Linked DNA regions of Homo sapiens: region 1 is linked to region 2. Evidence: promoter capture Hi-C in human tissues and cell types (Jung and others, 2019). All regions are on one chromosome and are shown on one strand. Each heading gives the region's core, a stretch centred on a gene start or on the middle of the fragment in contact. The rest is flanking DNA. Distances are from core to core; before and after follow the strand shown.

Evidence for each region. Contacts are between HindIII fragments. The study calls those that stand out against the background at their distance.
Region 1: a fragment that was not itself captured here is called in contact with the fragment with the promoter of ARSJ in region 2 in 3 of the 25 tissues and cell types used here (H1 embryonic stem cells, lymphoblastoid cells and mesenchymal stem cells).

What each region holds. Positions count from the first base shown.
Region 1 is chr4:114,365,436-114,368,451 of GRCh38, forward strand. No RefSeq gene overlaps it. Among named protein-coding and RNA genes, the nearest start is that of UGT8, 230 kb to the right of the region's middle. The HindIII fragment of the contact is 4,665 bases long and covers 1-3,016 here.
Region 2 is chr4:113,978,133-113,981,231 of GRCh38, forward strand. It overlaps ARSJ (arylsulfatase family member J), which reads right to left and starts at 1,515. Exons shown (of 2, transcript NM_024590.4): 1 at 305-1,515. The coding sequence starts at 702. LOC107986305 (a long non-coding RNA gene) reads left to right here and starts at 1,681. Exons shown (of 2, transcript XR_001741794.2): 1 at 1,681-1,854; 2 at 2,238-3,099. It overlaps LOC124900762 (a long non-coding RNA gene), which reads right to left. Exons shown (of 3, transcript XR_007058237.1): 3 at 2,763-2,832. The HindIII fragment of the contact is 13,267 bases long and covers 1-3,099 here.

The DNA of each region.
Region 1 (3,016 bases), core at 82-2,581, 390 kb after region 2:
ATGTTTCATTTATTACTCATCCAAATACTGCTGCTCCATCAATAGAATATCAAAAGGTGGGCAATTTAGTTGTCTTTGATTTTTGTGCCAATGTTTAATATTATAAAAATAATAATTTTATACATATGTTTAATTTTGTAATTATGAAGATACATTTGTCCAGAGAAGGATATTCGACTTAATAATTTGTTTTTCTAATTTATGACTTTTACATGTTTAAATTATGGTATAAGGGGAATCCTGGAAATTGGCCTGCTCTTCTCCCAATAAATAAGTCATGCTTTTTTTTTTTTTTAAGGCTAAGTGATTAAGGTGCTTAAATGTGGGACATTTATAGAACAAGACAATTTGTTCCCTGCTATCCTTTGATTCCCTTAGCTTACTTAAAGTGTCTCCAAGCCTGCTAAATAACAGATTTCTTATACACAAAGCATTCCTACAGCAACTCCTGGTGGATTTCTTCTAAGTGATACCCCTGAACCTACCTGTTCTGAACTACAGAATAAATAAAATGCTCCTGCTGAAAAATAGTTTTCCAACTAACTTCTCACCCTTTATATTCAACAATTCCATTGGTGCCACAGTAAGATATGGTCAAGGTCTTTGTACAGAACTATCTAGTTGAAGTAATTTTTTACTAGTTTATTGTACTGGCCCTTTTTTCTTCTAAGATTTCCTATTATTATTTTTTCCCAATGAAGCTTTACTTAGCAACATCTCAAGCATTGTCATGAAGTGATGTGAACTCGTTAAACAGTCTGAGAGAGCTTCTGCCACAAATTTACCTGAGGTAGCTTCCTTAAGCTATCTCTTTTTTTCCTCCCCCCATTACCTATCAGCAGCAGCAGTAATTGTGAGTTGCAGGGATGGGTTCGCTATATGTTCTTTACCATATACAAGTAACTCATCCATACAAGCCTTATAAACCATATATTAAATATTAAATGCACAATATTTAAGGTTATTTGTCAATGATAGTCCTATGTCCTCTATTTGAGACGTTAAAGTTATGGTATTTTGGTTAATTAAACTTCCAAAAATTATTAAGGAAACATGATCTGACCATTACAGATTCATATACGGCAGCAGAGGACTGAGTCAGGAAATCAAGAATGCATGTTTACCATAAAATTCAACAGCTTGGCCACTGCCTCTGATACATGCCTATAATTCCACTTAGTGATTATCACATGGCACTGTTTCCAAATATTGTCAGAAATCTTAAATTTCTGATTGCTGATTAGTTGCACACAAGGTCCAAGTCACAACTAATCCATAGCTAAACCTCTAGTATGTTTATCTTTTTCAACCACTCTCTAAAATTCTGCAAAGTGTTGGTGGCATTTTGCTTACTGTGAGACTTCAAAAACATCTCAACTCCCCTGTGGCTGGAATAGGTTGGCACTCAAACTAGAACCTTTTATGTCCAGTGTCCATTATATTAATAATGTTGCCTCAGATCAGTTAGATTTATTGTCTTCAGATACCCAGACCATGTTTTAAATAATTGTACTAAGATTTTCTATTTAACTAAGTCACATTACTGCCCAAATGAAGGCAAGTCCTAATCTTGATTACATTTTTAAAGTGTAATTATCTGGGAAAGAGAAAAGAAATAATAACAGAGATCTTATGTTTGTCCTGATGGCCACATGCTGAGAAGTTGGGAGGTATTTAAATTTAATATCCATTAGGAATTCACCAAGCAGGCCTGAACTTAGTGCAAGGATCTCTAATTTATGAAACTATCTTGAGGCTTCTGTGAGCAAATGTAGGTCTCTGTGCTCTCCTATCCCCTGGCAAGGGAGGGGTATGCACTTTTGTTTCATTATGCGTTACTTCCTAAATTGTAAGTTATCATTCTCTAAAAGTCTGTAACACCAAGAAATAATATCGCAGCACATGGAGAGAATAAGCAATTGGATTTCCTTTTCTCACAGGTATGGTCATGACTTAGGTACACGTGGGGACTGAATTAAGATTGAATGCGTTGTATTTTAAGTCAGAGAAACATGATGAAAACAAAAAGCATGCAGTTGTGTTCACTAAATTATCTTTCATTTTGGTTAGTAAAGGAAAAAATATTGAAGATTGTTATGTTAAAGAGACTGAAAACAAAGGGCAAGACTCTGCCTCAGCTCTCTCTGCCTGATGACAGGACATCAGTCCTTGCTTATTGGAGACAGCACTTGCTTATCAGCCCAGGGAAGGCACCAGCAGACACCAGAGGAACTTGGGAATGGATTTTACTATCTCCCCACATTTTCCCACCATTTAAAAGACTGAAACTTCTCTCTCTTTTTTCTCTACATAGGATTTATGGCTCTTTGTTAAAATACTATTAAATTCAAGCAAGGTCCCTGAGCCACAGCTTTGAGAGAGAAATACTTTTGAACTGAGGCCTCTCCTGTGTGATAGAACAGCACATGTTAATAAGCTTATGCTTATTTTTCTTTTGTTAATCTGACTTTTATTTTCAGGAACATGTCTGAACTAAGAATCTTAATAGGAAAGGGAACGAAATTGTTTCCTTCCCTATACTAGCTAAATATTGGGATATGCCATTACCAAATGTTACAATAATGGCTTACATTTCACTGTGTACCTTAGCAATAGAGGAAAAAGAAGAGAAAAGGAAAATCATAGTTTTTTTTTTTTTTTTTTTTTTTTTTTTTAAATGGAGTCTCCCTCTGTTGCCCAGGCTGGAGTGTAGTGGCGTAATCTCAGCTCACAGCAACCTCCGCCTCCCGGGTTCAAGCGATTCTCCTGCCTCAGTCTCCAGAGTATCTTGGACTACAGGTGTGCCCCACCACTTTTGGCTAATTTTTGTATTTTTAATAGAGACGAAGTTTCACCTTGTTGGCCAGGCTGTTCTCAAACTCCTGACCTCAAGTGATCCACCCGCCTTGGCCTCCCAAAATGCTGAGATTACAGGCGTGAGCCACTGTGCCCAGCTGGAAAATCATACTATTCATCAACACAATTCAATGAAACTTTCTGAGATAATGAAAATGTT
Region 2 (3,099 bases), core at 265-2,764:
TGAAACAGGAGACCATTTCTGGAAATCTCTGGTTTGTGGGTATTTATACGTTCTCATCTCATTTAGAAACTTATAATTGGCTCTGTAAAAAGGAAAACTAGACTACACTAGTGACTAGAAAATTAAGATCATTAACATTGTATCCATTTTAACACGGTACCCCAATACCATACATCATTCATTCATTCTTCATTCATTCAGTTGTTCCCCATACTTTCTGTTACTCCCTTAAATTTGGAGCTGGATCTTCATTAAATGCTTAAGATTTCTCCAAGGAATAAATATAAGAAGTAGGAACACTTACTTTCCAGTAATAAACTGACTCCTGGATGGTGTGCAAATAGGCTGGACATAGTAGTTCTCCAGTTTAACTCCTTCGGCAGCGAGCTTGTCAAGAGTAGGTGTTTTAATCTCAGATCCGTGGTAACCCACATCTCTAAATCCCTGATCATCCGCTAGGATGAAAATGAGATGGGGCTGGGAGGTGGAAGTTGTGCTGGGCTCTAGTTTCTCTCCAGCTTGAGCTAGTAAGGCCCCTTCTTCCTCCTCTTCTAAGGCCTGGCCCCAGGACAGGTAACCATAAGTGAGGAGGCAGAGGATCCAGAATCCTGCCAGCGCCCCCATTGCTAGCATCTTTCCAGGACAGACACAGGCCTGTGGAGAAGGCGGAGGCGGATGCCCCGCACAGCCCCTGGGAGCCATTCACTCAGGTCCCAGGTGAGACTCCACGCGGAGAACCACGCGCCCCGCGCCGCTGCGGGCGCACACATGCACCCAACAGACGGTGAAGACTCTCCACCTGGCAAGAAATCCTCCTCTCCTCTCAGCTGTCACCATGTCCGACAACTTTAATCTTCCAGAAGTGATGGCTTAATGGATGGGACTCCGGAAGAACAAGGAGGGCTCGCTCTTCTCCAGCACATTTCACTTTCTCCTCCTCCTCCCCCCTCCCTAGAGCAGCTTCCACCAAGGAAAAAAAAAAGAAAAAAGTTAATATCTCCACCCAAAAGTTCTCTGGAGAAAAAAACCAAGCAAGGAATTGAGAATCACAGTGGACAGGAACTTTTCGTGGCCAGAGCGCCCTCGACGTTGGGGAGCGAGGCTGACTCTCCTGGGAGTGCTGGTACGGAGGGCGGCGGGATCGGCCGTCTGTCCTGCGGTCCCCACACCTGGAAAGAACTGCGAAGTGGACGCGTCGCGTCTGGCTCTGATCAGACAGATAAACTGCCGTAGTGGACCGGCCTCCTGATCACCTTCTCCACTTTCCCAGGGCTATTTTCCCCAGTCCTTTCCTAGGCGTTTGCCAATCTCCCCGACACTCACCAGGCGGCGAAGTGAGGAAGAAGCCGTTTCCTGATCTCCCTCCACCTCCGCAGAAACTCCGGGCAGCAATTCCTTTTCCCCGCTGCTAGGGAGCCTGAAGGCCAAAGCCGGGTCCCTAGCCCCGCGGCCGGTCCGCGCGGAGCCCGCTTGGTCTTTGCGTAGTTGGCGCACCCGGCGCAGGCGCTGCAAACTGCGTGCGTTTTCTCAGCTAACTTATTTAGCTTTGGCACTCCGAGTTCTTTTGCCTCCTCCCTCTTTTCTCTCCAGTGAATCACAGAACGGTACTTTCTTCCTGAGCTCCCCCGGGAAGAGGGGGTGGGGGAAAAGGACTGTTTAGAGGCTCGATCTTTCCTTTTTCTTTTCCGGGAGGTGGATGGCCAAGGCAGAGGAGGCTTTGCCAGAGAGAGAGCTGCGTGCTGCTCCAGCCCAGCGGGATTCCGGGGGATCCGCCTGGGCTACCGCGTCCCAAGAGTGTCGCCTCCTGCCCATCACCCCGCTAGAGGGAAAGGACGGCGGCGCGAATGGGGAAGGGTAAAGCGGGCACTTCTTTTCGTGGGGCTGTTGGTGAAGAGCCCCGTCTCCCATCCCTAAAGTTGCGCTTGCAAACTTTTTCTAGCTTCTGGAGGGAGTGAGAGAGAAGGAGCAGGAATAAAAACAAAATGCGTATGACACTCTTTCCTCTTTCCAACTTCCTTTGCAGGTTTTCCTTTACTAGTCCCCCCACCCCCATCATTTTCCTATTCCTTTTGTCCCTACCTTTTTTTTTTTTTTTTTCAGTAACGATGACAAATTTTTAAGTTTTATTTCCTCTCCCAATAGCTGGCTTTTACAGCCTGATTCTTCGTTACCCTTTCCCTATGTGAAAATACTGGAATTGCCCGCTCCCTCTTACCTCTCCCCTAACTTACCCACAGGGTGTCTCCAGCCAAAAGCCTGGAGAGGAAGAGTTATGCATTTCTCCTTCAAGAACCCCGAAGCCAGTCTGCATTCCTGCATTAAAGAAGCCAGTGTTTCCCATCCAGTAATTCAGGGAGCTTCATCATTTTTTTTCCTTCTTTCTTTTTTACCATGTGGAGGAAAACCATTGTAAAAACTTATCTTGGTTGTGAAAATACTCTTGATTTTACTAGAGTCATAGAGTTTTAAAGTCCTGCTCAAAGGCAGCAGAGGGATGTATAGTATAGTCTCTATAGAAGAGGCAATGAATGCCAAGAGCCACTGAGATATTTTTTTCTACCACCAAATTTATTCAACAGTTACTTACTGAATACCTACTGTGGGCTGGCACATAACATGTCAGATTCTCTCAATTGACTGAAACATAAATCTAGGTTTCATTTAGCCATTTATTTCTAATTCTCTCCTGTTGCTAAAGTTCCTGCTGAGTTCCCAGGCAAAACTTTGTGAAATGGGAACTTTGAAAGGCACGATGGTGCTCCATGAAGTTAACCTTGCTAGCTGCTGTAGGCCTTCTGGTCTCTGTTCTTCCTTGCAGCCCTTCTGGCTAAGCTGGGGAGAGATAGTCAGTTTTAGAAGCCATGTTCAGAAATGTGAGTTTAGCAATTCTGTAAATTAAGTCACCAAATATGTAATGAGAGTACTGAGTGTCAGGGGATTGAAAAGCATTGAGAGGTAGGGCCCTAGGCTTAATGGGCCTAGCCAGGTGCTTGAATGGGAAAGATGCAAACATTCTGGTCAATCTAGCCTTTTATTTGGGGAGATAGTGACTTCTTGTGACATAGCACAAGAAGTATCCATGTTCTGTGCAAGAAGGAG